Regions from separate parts of the Homo sapiens genome. Here regions 1, 3 and 4 are each linked to region 2. Evidence: promoter capture Hi-C in 16 types of primary human blood cells and fetal thymus (Javierre and others, 2016). All regions are on one chromosome and are shown on one strand. The core of a region is centred on a gene start or on the middle of the fragment in contact, and the rest is flanking DNA. Distances in the headings are between cores, read along the strand shown.

Region 1 (2,982 bases), core at 1-2,500, 1.0 Mb before region 2:
CGCAGTTCTGCATTCTGTCGGGCGGTGGTGAGTCAAAGGCTGGGTTCAGCGCCGGGTGGGGCTGAGTGGCAGCAGGGCCCCGGGAGCTGCGAGGAGGCCGGGCCCACGGGCGGACGCTGACGCGGGGAGGAGGCCGAGTGCCGGGCTCCGGGCCGCTTGTCGCTGCATCTGGAGTCTGGCGCCCTGGCCGCCCGGCCCGAGGCCGCCCCTCCGCTCCGGCGACACCGAGCCCGCCATCGCGGCTGCGGAGCCCTGGCACGGAGATGGAGCGCTTGGGGGCTGGGCCGGGGAGGCGGAACTGGAGCGCGATGTCATCCTTCGGTCCCTCGTTGCCGGCTGACCTGAACTGATGTCTACTCTGTTGACGTTTCGTCCCTAAGCTTTGTGTTTTCTGGCTGACCAGCCGTGAGGTTTTCATGAGCAGCTTATTGGCCTGGTGTAGACCCGCCGTGTTAACCACACAAAATAAGGTTTTCTTGTCCCGGGATAACGTGTTTCTCTAATTGTACGATCCTTAAATTTAGAGCAATCGCAGGCGCTGGCTCAGTCAATAAAGGATCCGGGCCCAACACGCACATTCACAGTAGTTCCCAGGGCAGCAGGTACTAGACGTTTTCTATTCTAGTAAATACATGTAGTTATCTCTAGTAGTTTCTCTTTGTTTTTATAAAAATTCCCTTTAGTATACGAAGTCACTTTCCATTTTTGAATATTTATTGTATTTTAGATTATGTGAATTAAGGGTAGATACACAGCCATTTTCAGTAGATAGTCTTCGTATTTATACCTTTTGACGTTTCTGCCTCCTCTCTTTTTCCAATCCCACGCTCATTTGTCACCTTATTTCTATTATTTTTCCACTTCATCCATCAAAATAACCTTCAGTCCGTGCTTCTTTCCCTTCAGCAAATTTCCTCTACTGCTAAAACCCTGTTCCTGATGTTGGAATATTAAAGGCTCCCTCAGGACTGTGGAAATGGAAGGATTACAGCGGGACTGATGGAGACTTGAAATCTAGATCTGGTTTTGCTACTGGGATCTTGAACAAATTATTTATCCTCTTTGGACCTTGGTCCTCATCTTTAAAGCGGTGGGGTTGGTCTGACGACCTAAAGTCATTTCTGCTTTGTGATTCTAAGTGTCCACCTTCCAGCCACATAGTCACGGGATCAAAAAGAGTATTTTGTAGAATTGTTCCTTAATACAGTGAGTAAAGTAGGACCAGTTTTAAACAAGCATTAGTGTGTTTTGCTAGGTGGAGGCTCTGACTATAATTTCATCACTTTAAAGTGACATTACTTCAGTGAATTGAAACTGGCAGAGATATTTTACTGATTCTTATTTGGATGTAAAAAACAGCAGTGCACTTGAATTTTAAACTCAGATTACTTTTTAGAGAAAGCACAAGAGTTCTTAACTCTTGCAGGCTTTTGAAAGCCCTTCTTTTCAGGAATACTTGCAATTTTGATCCTTTCAGTTGGTAAAAATACATTGCACACTCATTAGGTTGGTTGGAAATAAGTTGCAGCTTACTGAAGATGTTATTAAAGTAGAGAACTGTTTTGAACTTTGGTAGCGTAAAACTGTAAATATTATATTAGCAAATGTGGCTTATCGAAGTACCAGTGTGAAATAATGACATTTTAAAGTTGATGCCCTGAGGATGTCAGTGGCTTCATTTCTGAATTAGTGAATTCAGATGAAAAGAACACGGGATTGGAAATGGAGAGATTTGGGTTCTAGTTCCAGTTTTGCCACAGACTTCCTCTGTGATTTTGCAAAACCCTACTGTAAGTTTTTTTTCAACTTACAAAATGATAGTCTTTTTTTTAAGCCCTTAATGTATACCCAGAATTTTCTATACATTATTTGTATATGAGCACCTTTAGTTTTCACGGCCACGTGGGAGGCAGGAATGAAGTAATGTTTTACAAGTGTGGTGCTCACCAGGTCCCACAGCTGGCCGTGGGCAGAATTCTGCTTTAATTGCAGGTGTCTCTGACTCCAGTCCCATGCTTCTTCCCTTCCAGTGCAGTGTCTACTTGCTAATGATCACGTCTCTTAACCTTAGAAGATTGTTCTCTGTTATTCGAATCAGTATTATAGGAGAATAAGCTTCTCTCTTGCCTCTCACAGAAAGTACTGAAATCCCACCTTATGTGATGAAGTGTCCGAGCAATGGTTTGTGTAGCAGGCTTCCTGCAGACTGTATAGACTGCACAACAAATTTCTCCTGTACCTATGGGAAGCCTGTCACTTTTGACTGTGCAGTGAAACCATCTGTTACCTGTGTTGTAAGTACTGCAGCTTACTTATTCTAAATAAATTCATTGTAAACTTTAAGTTAGAAGAACAATTCAGACTTGATTATTGGGAAGAAATTCTGAAGAATTTTTATATTCTTTTATGATTTCCCTTTTGAGTATGTAAGCAGAAATAAATTAAAAAACCCAATAGACCTTTCCATATCAGCTCACTACTGTTTTAGTTATAATGATAACTGTCAAGCCAGTTGATGTCTGCTGGAAATGCACTTGACAGAAATGTTGCTTTGTAGGACTGGAGAAGATCTCAGTCTACTAGCATATCTGAAGCAAGTCTAATTCGTTCAGATGGATTCTGTGTTCTCAATAGTGACAGCTAGTGTACAGAGGGGGTGGCAGTGTCTTTCTGCCATAGATGAGCTTTTGAAGGGCCAGTGCTTATCTGTGGTGAGAAGATGGATTCAGTAAATGCCGGAATGCCTGGTAGCTCTCTAGAACAAAATTAAGTGGAACGCCTGTCTTATCCAGAATAAATTCCAGATAGTCCAAAGATGTAATGTGAAAAATGAAACCCTGAAGTACCACAGAAAACACCAGATAGTTGCTGTTATAATCCCAAAATGGAGAATATTTTTCTAAGTATGAAATAAAGTTTAGAAGCCATAAAATAAAGAATTGATACATTTGACTCCTAAAAATTGGAGATTTCTGCATGACC
Region 2 (3,340 bases), core at 710-3,209:
AAAGATACTAATTTCTTTTTGTGGAGGGCAGAAAGTCCAGTGGAACATAGGAAATCAAAAATATTAACTTCTGCTATTTTAAGCACTTCCTTGTAACAAAAATTCCCTAAACAATTTGGGATATTAAAATAACTCAGATTAACAAGTCACTTTATACTTTTGCTACTGGATGTTAAAAAAGTCATCCATTTGGCTAATTTTGGAATTAAACCTTGTATAATTTCCATGCTTATATCCCCCCTTTAGGAATTACACTAATGTCCTAAGTTTACTTTCAGAGCATTTTCAGAAGCAGCAACAAAATATGGCAGCAGAAATGTGATCACATGAATTAGATGCTTAAATTTCAATCCAGCAAACTCTACGTAAAAGTTTTAAAATGAGAAATCTTTTTTATAGAGTGCTAAAATTAAGACCCAGATATGTAAACACACCAAAAGGTTCCTTTGTTTTTAAATTCCTGAGTCAAACGATTAATAAGATATTGTGCAAATTTTTAAAAGTTCTCCTAGAAAATCTGAGGTGTAAGAAACATTGTATCTTTATAAGTTTCAAAGCCCATCCACATTTGTCACACACAAACACACAGAAAGCCCAAAGAGTTAATTATGCCTAAGTGCTTCAGGGTAATAATGTTGTCTTCATACCATTCACACTCTTAAGGTACACAGGTTGGCTTTCTAGTAGGAAATAAAATCAAACTATTTTCTGAAACTCATAAATCTCAGGCCAATAATTTACCTTTCTCTACCAAATCGTTGTCAGTTAGATAACTCAAAAGATTTTTCTGATGCAGGTAGAAGAAAGGTGATAGGAAAGAGTAAGGGGGAAAACAGTAAATTGTGGTTTAATTAAAAAGGAAAGTCATTCAGAATTAACAAGCAATTAACAAGGAATTGAGGAATTCCTATGAGAGTAAGGAAGGGAGGGTAGCTACAAAAAGGTCTCAAAGCCTCAGAGCAGAGTAAATGGCACAGTGTACCAAAAGATAATGAAAAACACAGAAACACACTGTACAGAAAGAAAGTGGGAAAATACTGTCCTGGGTAGAGAAGTTATAAAATGTTAAGTATCAGGCACGGGTAATGTTTTTGTTTTTCCTGGGAAACTGGGGGTGGGGGTGGGGGGGGTAGGAAAGGTTGCATTCCCAGGCAACCACCCTGAAAATAAACCACTGCTTAATGAGGTAGGGGCCAGGAATAAACAACGGGGGAGGGGAGGGCTGGCTCATTACCTTTACAGACGATGCTGGTCAGAGGCACTGTGCCTTCTGCTTCTCTGATAGGTGGGCAGACCTCTTCCTGCTTTCGCGTCTTCTTCAGCCAGCTCAAACCTAGAAAAACAGAAACCAGTGAGTGGTGTAGTGTCTCAGAGGTGGGGAGGGGGGAGCTCAGGAAAGGGGCTGGAGAGTGGCAAGGGCAGGCAAGAAAAAGCAGAGATTTTCCTCCCTCCTACCCTCCCAGCCAGCACTCTTCCCCTCGGGGGAAGTAAAGGACTTTACCTGTCTCCTCAGCTGCTGCTTCTCTTCCTCCTTTCAGCCTCCTCTACACTCACCAACTTCTCCATTGAAGAAATACCCCAGGCAGGGCCGGACCCTGGTGTTCCTGATCCTCCTCGGTGCCTCACGGCCCCAGCCCGGCGAACATCCGAACAGCCGAGAAGGCAGGAGGTGGCGATCCCGGCCGCCGGGCAGCCTTGGGGCAGAGGTGCAGGGAGGCAGGGAGGAAGTCCTGGCTCGGGTGGGGGGGCAGTCCCGGTCCAGGGCTCGGAGCAGGGGGCTGCCGCGCTCCGGGCCGGAGGCTTCCAGCTACGGAGGGACCCAGGAGGTCTCGGGACGGCGAGGTCCCAGGTCATACGGGGCCCGAAGTGCCAGCCGTGGGGTCTCCGGACAGGGGGCTTTCGGGATGCACTTTGCACTGGGCCACCCCCGCCCCCTCCCTTCAGCACTTTGGGGTCACTGGGATGGGACCAAGCCTTCAACAACCAATCAGCGCCCGCAGTGGAGCCTGAGCCTGGAGCCGTAAACCAGGTCCGGGATGGGTGGGGGTGGAGGGAGTAGGGACGACTTGGTTGGTTGGTTGCTTCCTTCTCTCCTCCTTACCCCCGGCAGCCCCCACCCTCTGCCTGCCGTAAAGTTGCCTTTGCATTCGCGACAGTTAAGGGAGGCGTGCCGAACGGGGCAGAGATTCGTCTCCGATTGGTCTCACTCACTTCCCCTTACAGCTTCCCCGTGGTGGCTTCCGAGGCTCCGCCCCTGGCGGAGGGACTCAAAGCCGTTGCTAAGAGACACTATTCGCCGAAGGCGGTCTCTGCGCATGCGGGAGGAGGTGCCAGCTTGTACTTTCTGTGAACTACGGTGGCCCAGAGCGGGCATTTGTGTTCCCTCAAATGGCGGTGTGAAGAGAGTTCGCCTGAGCCAGATCCCAGGCAGGTAACCGGGACCGGCCGCCGTGCTGGCAGCAGGGGAGGCACGAGTGCGGCCAAATGAGAGCCTGGTTCAGGGCTTAAGGTTGGGAGGGCGGCAGGCTCCAGGAAGCGAGTAGAGGGGTGCCTTGTTTCTCCGCCCCTGTTCAGCGCTTGTCAGACGCAAGTGCCCGGTCTTGGCGCGGCTGTCGGTCCTTGAGACCCCGTTAGCTTCCAGGCTGGCAATGCCTCGCCTGAAGTGGGAGAACGGACTCTCTTTGGGATAGCGATGACGATCCAAGGACCTTCCTGAAAGGATAGCAACGTTGGCGGGTTCCTGTGAATGAATGGAGAGGGGTCGTGGGGAAAACGCGAGATAGACTGATCAAGACACGTTTGTTAAGCACTTTATTCATTAGCAAGTGTTTACTGGCCACTGTTCTAGTCCCTGGGGAGACAACAGTGAACAAGATAGTGATTTCGGGGAAACAAACACAAAATTATCAGATAGGGATGGGTTATATGAGGAAAATCAAGCAGAATGGTGGAATCGATTTTGACCAGGACGTGATGGGCTGTATTAGATAGGTAGTGCTATGGTGTGAATATCTGTCCCCTTCAAAACTCATGTTGAAATTTAATCCCCAATGTGGCAGTACTGAGAGGTAGAGTCTTTAAGAGGTGGTTGGACCGTGAGGGTTCTGTCTTCACGAGTGGATTGATCTATTCATGGATTAATGGGTTATCACGGAGGTAGAACTGGTGGCTTTTTAAGGAGAGACTTGACAACTCGTGAGCCTGCTCAGCCCCCTGGCCACGTGATACTTTGCGGTGCTGTCTCGTGGTCCGTCAGTCTTAGACTTCCCAGCCTCCAAAACTAGACAATAAATTACTTTTCTTTATAAATTACCGAGTTTTAGGAATTATTTTATAAGCA
Region 3 (3,050 bases), core at 233-2,732, 1.3 Mb after region 2:
TTTTTCACTTAAACTCAGCTCTTTCAAATGTAAAACATGAAGAATAACTACTTAACTGTAAGAATGATAAATGTTTTAGATTATTTTTCTTAGAAATAAATGAAAGTATTTGCTTAGCATTTGTAGAAATTAAAATTGTCATCTTAAGAAATGTAAATGAAAATATTTTAAGTATCTTCAAATCTACAAATGTTTTCTGGCAAAAAATGTAAAACAAACATCAAGACTGATATTTTTAACTTAGCAAAAACTTACAGAATGAGCTCAAAATAAAAAAAACTATACATCCAGTACATTTACAAAAATACAATGTTTCTGAATTTGATAGAAATTTGATTGCCAAGAAAAGATTTTTCAAAAGAAAAAACAGGCATTAAAAATTGCTGAAATGCCTCTTGAAGTGTTTATCTTAATATTTGTTAAAACTTTAAGTTATGTAAATGTCGGAAACAAGGGTTGGAGGTTACAAGCATCAAGTGTCTTCTCCAGCTTTTTATTTTTAAAAAAACCTATTTAATAAACATGCCATAAGTATGATTTTATAAATGCAATTTTCAAAGCAATATAAAAATACACACAAAAATAGAATACCAAACACATTCCCATTAAGCCAGATCAATGATTTAAGATTACACCTAGCTTGAACAATTCTGTAAGTTTATGACATAACTGTTTGGTTTTGCGGGGGTGGGGTGGGGAGCATGTTCCAAGATCCGTGTACAAGTGCCTTACTTACATAACGTATGTATTTGTTGACTGATTCGATGGGACTAACAGTTAGGCACTGGTGTCTCACTTCCAGTACACAGGTGCCTCATTAAAGTGAATGCCTGAAAAATGAATTTAAACTTGTGGAAACATACATACACCAATGGTTTTGAGTCTTTTGCTTGCAAATAACACCCTTCGAGTACACAAGATAATGGTCTGTTCTAAGAAAAGACCCCTAGCCCTGCCACCTCTTTCTAAACTGTCCCCCTCCTAACTCCCTAGGCAGAAACTACAAATTACAGGGTATATGCTAAGTCAGGTTCCCTACATTTCATTTAAAAAGCAAAGAATGATACATGTTTAAAAATATTTCTATTAAGCTAGACTTTTATTCACAGGAAAACTCAGACACAGACTTTACAAAAATTAACTGGGAAAATTCACTTAACATGCAGCACTTCATTTCTCCACAGTCGATAAACGTGGTTAAATTTTAACGACATGGTGGTGCTAGGCTAGGAAGAGGTTATCAATAAATATCTACAGAATTAAAATGAAGCAAAACTAACTGGACCACAAATTAGGAGACCTTATTTTTGCACTGAAAAGTGACTTTAGAACCAGCCATTATCCTCTTCTTAGTTTCCTCAAAAAGAAAAATTGTCTAAATTATAAATAAAGCTTCTAGCTTTAAAATCCTATGACTCCATAAATAGAGTTAAGTTATGGAACAGACGTTCATTTTCCTGAAAAATGAAAGTCATTATGACATGTGAGAGGCTTGAGTTTCTTAATTATTTGACAAGGAATCACCGTTTCACATTACTGACAAGGAATCAGTAACAATGACAGAAAAGCTTCTAAATCTGAAAATTCAACAGGAAAAGAAGCTGTTGTAACAAAACTTAATTTTCAGGCACATGTGTATTATGAAGACAGGATAAATGTGCAATGGCTGTTTTCCAGAACTGTACCACATTTACTTACAAACACTAAAACACTAACGGACCATTAGAATGCTTTACTATTTGATATACTCACATATTTCCACATAGTCAATTTAAGAAACAGAGATGCTTTTATACAGAGCTAGCTCAAGAACAGTGCAATCATGGCGATTATGGAGGCCCTGCACCCTAGCAGCAGTTCAAGCTGCAAGGATCCAACAGACTGGAGAAAAACAAGAAGTCCTTGCTCTGGAATTCAAAATGAACCAAACTAATAACAAAACTTAATTCCCGCTCCCGGTTTCTCCTACCGCACTTGGCTGTATGATGCTCTTTTAGGCCATCTCCTTAACTTACTGTTTTTCCCCTCAGGGTGTTCTGATCCTTATTTGATCCAGATCCTACTACTACCAAATTCAAGGAGGGGGTGGCGGATATAGTTGTGTGACTTTCCTAGCCATCAACCTCTCTCACCCTCACCTAACCACCGGCTAAGAGAGTCATCTATGTCAATATGGCATAAACATATGCATCGCTGTAAATCAAAATATTTAGACTAGCTGATTAGAAAGCTTGATAAAAACTTAGTGGCACTATATTCTAACCATCTTATTTTAACTGACTCCAAATTATAAAAATAAATATTTACTGAAAGTAATATAAACCAAACTTACTAGTAGAGTTTTCCCTTGTCCTATAAACACTTAAGTAAGGCTGTTTCTTTCAGCCTCCACCCCTACCCTCATACTCTCCATCCATCTCCAACTTTAATCATTATTCAGTTTGATGTACATTTTATGACTTAGTTTATTTGTCTATAAAATAAGGATCATAATAGTGCCTACATCACAGGATTGTCCTGAGGATTAAATAATACATGTCATTTGCGTAAAACTGTTTGAGCACTTGGTAAAGACTCAAACAGTGCTAGCTGCTATCATATTTTAACAAATCCATTATTGATGAATATCGAGGTTTTAACAATTTTTCATCATATTCAATTTTGTGATAAACACTCTTGTTCACCAGACTTTTCTATTGGGTAGATTCTTGCAAGTGAAAATGCCGATTCAAACACATATCCATGTAGTTTTGCTAGATATGGCCCAACAACTCAACAAAAACATTAATTTCCATTAGGAGTATGTGACAGTATCTTCTCCTAACTGTCTCCAACACTGGGTATTAATTATCCTTAACACTAGGTGTTAATTTTTTTTTTTTTAGACAAGGTCTCACTATGTTGCCCAGGCTGGTCTCAAACTCCTGGGCTCACATGATCCTCTCATCTCAGCCAAGTAGCTGGTATGCCTCGATGCCTGGCTAGGTGTTCATCTTTGCCAATCTGATAGGTAAAAATTAGTGTTTTATCACTTCTTCTAAAAGTTGAAC
Region 4 (3,299 bases), core at 376-2,875, 1.1 Mb before region 2:
TTGGGTCACATTAGTGTATTTAAAACTTTTCAAGCCTTAAATATGAGATGTCTTGAGAAATGAGCTGCCCATGTTTAATAAACACGTGTATTTAATCTATTTAAGTTGTGCTACTAGAGTACTAGAGTTGGTTTTTTTTGTTTGGTTGGTTTTTTTTTGTTTTTTGAAGGCGGAGGTTTGCTCTTGTTGCCCAGGCTAGAGTGCAATGGCATGATCTCGGTTACTGCAGCCTCCACCTCCCAGGTTCAAGCGATTCTCCTGCCTCAGCCTCCTGAGTAGCTGGGACTACAGGTGCATGCCACCAAGCCCGGCTAATTTTTTTTTTTTTTTTTTTTTTTTTTTAGTAGAGATGGGGTTTCACCGTGTTAGCCAGGAGGATCTCGATCTCCTGACCTCATGATCCGCCCACCTTGGCTTCCCAAAGTGCTGGGATTACAGGCGTGAGCCACCGCCCCCGGTCTTTTTTTTTTTTTTGTATTCGAGAAACTAGCTACTTTGCTTTTGTATATAAAGCATTAAAACAATCAGTAAGTATTTATCTAGCATCAACATTTGGTAGGAGTGAAGAAGGAATACCTAGGCCCAAAGAAGTTAGTCTGGTTGAGGAATTCAGGCAGACTCAGGACAAACAACTAGAGAACAGAGTACGATGGTATACAAGTAAGTGCTGTAATGTGTGACTCTGTACACGTTCTGTAAACAGTAGAAAAGGGAGGTGTCATGGGGGCTGGGCGTGGGGCTGTCTCAAAGGAAAAAAAAAAAAAAAAGGGAGATGCCAGCGGGTAAAATAGGTAGAGGAGGCAGGCTTTGAGGTGGACCTTTAGAGCTAAGGAGAAGTTAGATAGGCAGAGAGGAGCCTTTTGGAGGTGGGAAGTACACATGCTCTTAGTCTTACAGTTGGGTTATGTCCCAATAAAACCAATGTGAGTTAAAAATGTATTTAATACACGTAAGCTAGTGATCATCGTAGTTTAGCCTAGCCTACATTAAAAGTGCTCAGAACACTTAGATTAGCTTACAGTTGGGCAAAATCCTCTAACATAAAGCCTATTTTATTATGAAGTGTTGAATATCTCATGTAATTTATTGAATACTGTACTGAGTGAAAAACACAATGGTTGTATGGATACTCAAAGTACAGTTTCTACTGAATGCATATGACTTTCACATCACTAAAGTTGAAAAATTGCGGCTGGATACGGTGACTCACGCCTGTAATCCCAGCATTTTGGGAGGCCAAGGCAGGTAAATCATTTGAGGTCAGGAGTTCGAGACCAGCCTGGCCAACATGGCGAAACCCCATCTCTACTACAAATACAAAAATTAGTCTGGCAGGGTGGTGCGTGCCTGTAATCCCAGCTACTCGGGTGGCCGAGGCAGGAAAATCGCTTGAACCTAGGAGACAGAGGCTGCAGTGAGCTGATTTCGTGCCCCTGCACTCCAGCCTGGGCGACAAAGCAAGACTCCATCTCAAAACAACAGCAACAACAACAACAAACCAAAAAACAACAACAACAACAAAATCGTAATTCAAACCATGGTAAGCTTGGGACCATCTGTAGAACTGAGAAGGCAGTAAGGGGGTGAGCCTGATTCAGAGCTGAGCAGCTGGAAAACAGTAGGCTGTATATATTAATCTCATTATGTTCTAATAATTTCCAGGTGAAGCATCAACCAATTTTCATAAAAGAAAGATTGAAGCTTTTTGAAATACTGAAGAAAGACCATCAGCTCTTACTTGCCATTTATGGAAAAAAGGGGGATACAAGCAACATCATCACAGTAAGAGTGGCTGATGGGCAAACAGTGCAAGGGGAAGTCTGGAAAACAACGCCTTACCAAGTGGCTGCTGAAATTAGGTAAACCGCAGTGTGGAAAAGATATTCAATCTTAAGTAATTATACTGAAGCCTGGTGAAAATGTTTTCTTAGGGACCGCTAATATATTACTCCATTCTCACGATACTAAAAGGACATGTCTGAGACTGGGTTATTTATAAAGGAAGAAGATTTAATTGACTCACAGTTCCGCAGGGCTGGGGAGGCTTCAGGAAACTTACAGTCGTGGCAGAAGGGGAAGCAAGCATGTCCTTCTTCACATGGCAGCGGCAAGGAGAAGTGCAGAGCAAAGTGGGGGGAAAACCCCTTATAAAACCATCAGATCTCATGAGAATGCACTCACTATCAAAGAACAGCATGGAGGTAACAGCCCCTGTGATTCAGTTACCTCCCACTGGGTCCCTTCCACAAAACGTGGGGATTATGGGAACTAGAGTTCAAGATGAGGTTTGGATGGGCACACAGCCAAACCATATCAGCTAATTTTTTTTTTATTCAGTTGAATAAATTAAATGTATTTAATTTTTTTCCTCTGGCTTCTCCAAGGGCCATGTAAATAAGTAGTTGAATATCAGAACACAATCATTTCCTGTTCTAATAAAAATATATAGGAGAGAAAAAAATCTGTAATTCTTGATAGGCCATTTTACACTGACTTTATTCGTCAATCAAGTAATTTCCATGAGTTTTTACAGGTCTTTTAAGTATAGATTGAAGATAAATGTTTTAGAGCTATTATCAGTCTTGGAAAAGTGCTTTGACTTTTCTAGAAATTAGATACATTAGTGAACTTATATTGTTTTGACTCATGTTAATTCTTAGCATTAAATACAATTGTATAGAAGCTATTGTATAAATACAATTATATAGCTTCTATACAATTGTATTAATGCCATGTAAATAAATGTTCATCATTTAAAAAGCAAACTGTTTCAACAACTGAAATTCTCAGATTTTCTTTGAAAACTATGGCTAAGATTGTATTTCTGATTCATCCTATTATATTGTTAAATGCTCTCCCAGCCTGTTTTCATGTTTTCCAGGAGGAATGATGTGCTAGGAGAAAACAGGTTTTGAGGCAAGAATAAGTTTGTTTTCTCATGGAGAGTCAGGTTGCATGTTAAATGTGTTGGGTCAGTATTTCTCAAAGTGTAGTCCCCAGACCAGCAGCATGGGCATCACCTGGAAACTTGTTAGAAAAGCAAATTTGGGGATCCCACCTCAAACCCCCTGAATTGATCAGCCATCAGTGTTTTTATGAGCTCTCCAGGGGCTTCTAATGCAAGCTAACCGTCTAGAAGTGACCAGTCAAGCCTAGTGGACATCTCTGGTCCATGCAGTTATTTATGGACCCAGCTTCCTCCCATCTTGTTGATCTGCTGTCTCCTAGGTAGGGTTTCTTTGTGTCTAGCGGTGGAAGCTGGGTCCTTGCATGGGCCTGCCTGCAGTCAGGAGGAAGAG

What was found. Contacts are between HindIII fragments. The CHiCAGO score rates a contact against its expected background, and 5 or more counts as called.
Region 1: a contact is called between a fragment that was not itself captured here and the fragment with the promoter of ASB7 in region 2, in 3 of 17 cell types (erythroblasts, fetal thymus and naive B cells). The highest score is 7.3, in erythroblasts.
Region 3: a contact is called between a fragment that was not itself captured here and the fragment with the promoter of ASB7 in region 2, in 2 of 17 cell types (fetal thymus and total B cells). The highest score is 6.1, in fetal thymus.
Region 4: a contact is called between a fragment that was not itself captured here and the fragment with the promoter of ASB7 in region 2, in 2 of 17 cell types (total B cells and fetal thymus). The highest score is 7.0, in total B cells.

What each region holds. Positions count from the first base shown.
Region 1 is chr15:101,649,316-101,652,297 of GRCh38, reverse strand. It overlaps TM2D3 (TM2 domain containing 3), which reads left to right. Exons shown (of 6, transcript NM_078474.3): 1 at 1-27; 2 at 525-602; 3 at 2,137-2,294. Among named protein-coding and RNA genes, the nearest start is that of TM2D3, 1.6 kb to the left of the region's middle. RefSeq lists a silencer at 1-329. The HindIII fragment of the contact is 1,735 bases long and covers 383-2,117 here.
Region 2 is chr15:100,601,208-100,604,547 of GRCh38, reverse strand. It overlaps ASB7 (ankyrin repeat and SOCS box containing 7), which reads right to left and starts at 1,959. Exons shown (of 6, transcript NM_198243.3): 1 at 1,502-1,959; 2 at 1,235-1,333. LINS1 (lines homolog 1) reads left to right here and starts at 2,364. Exons shown (of 7, transcript NM_001040616.3): 1 at 2,364-2,427. RefSeq lists silencers at 1,177-1,226, 1,677-1,936 and an enhancer at 2,107-2,446. The HindIII fragment of the contact is 6,685 bases long and covers 1-3,340 here.
Region 3 is chr15:99,266,305-99,269,354 of GRCh38, reverse strand. All of the region lies in intron 2 of LRRC28 (leucine rich repeat containing 28), which reads right to left. Among named protein-coding and RNA genes, the nearest start is that of LRRC28, 16 kb to the right of the region's middle. The HindIII fragment of the contact is 176 bases long and covers 1,395-1,570 here.
Region 4 is chr15:101,719,686-101,722,984 of GRCh38, reverse strand. It overlaps TARS3 (threonyl-tRNA synthetase 3), which reads left to right. Exons shown (of 19, transcript NM_152334.3): 3 at 1,663-1,859. Among named protein-coding and RNA genes, the nearest start is that of TARS3, 3.1 kb to the left of the region's middle. The HindIII fragment of the contact is 156 bases long and covers 1,548-1,703 here.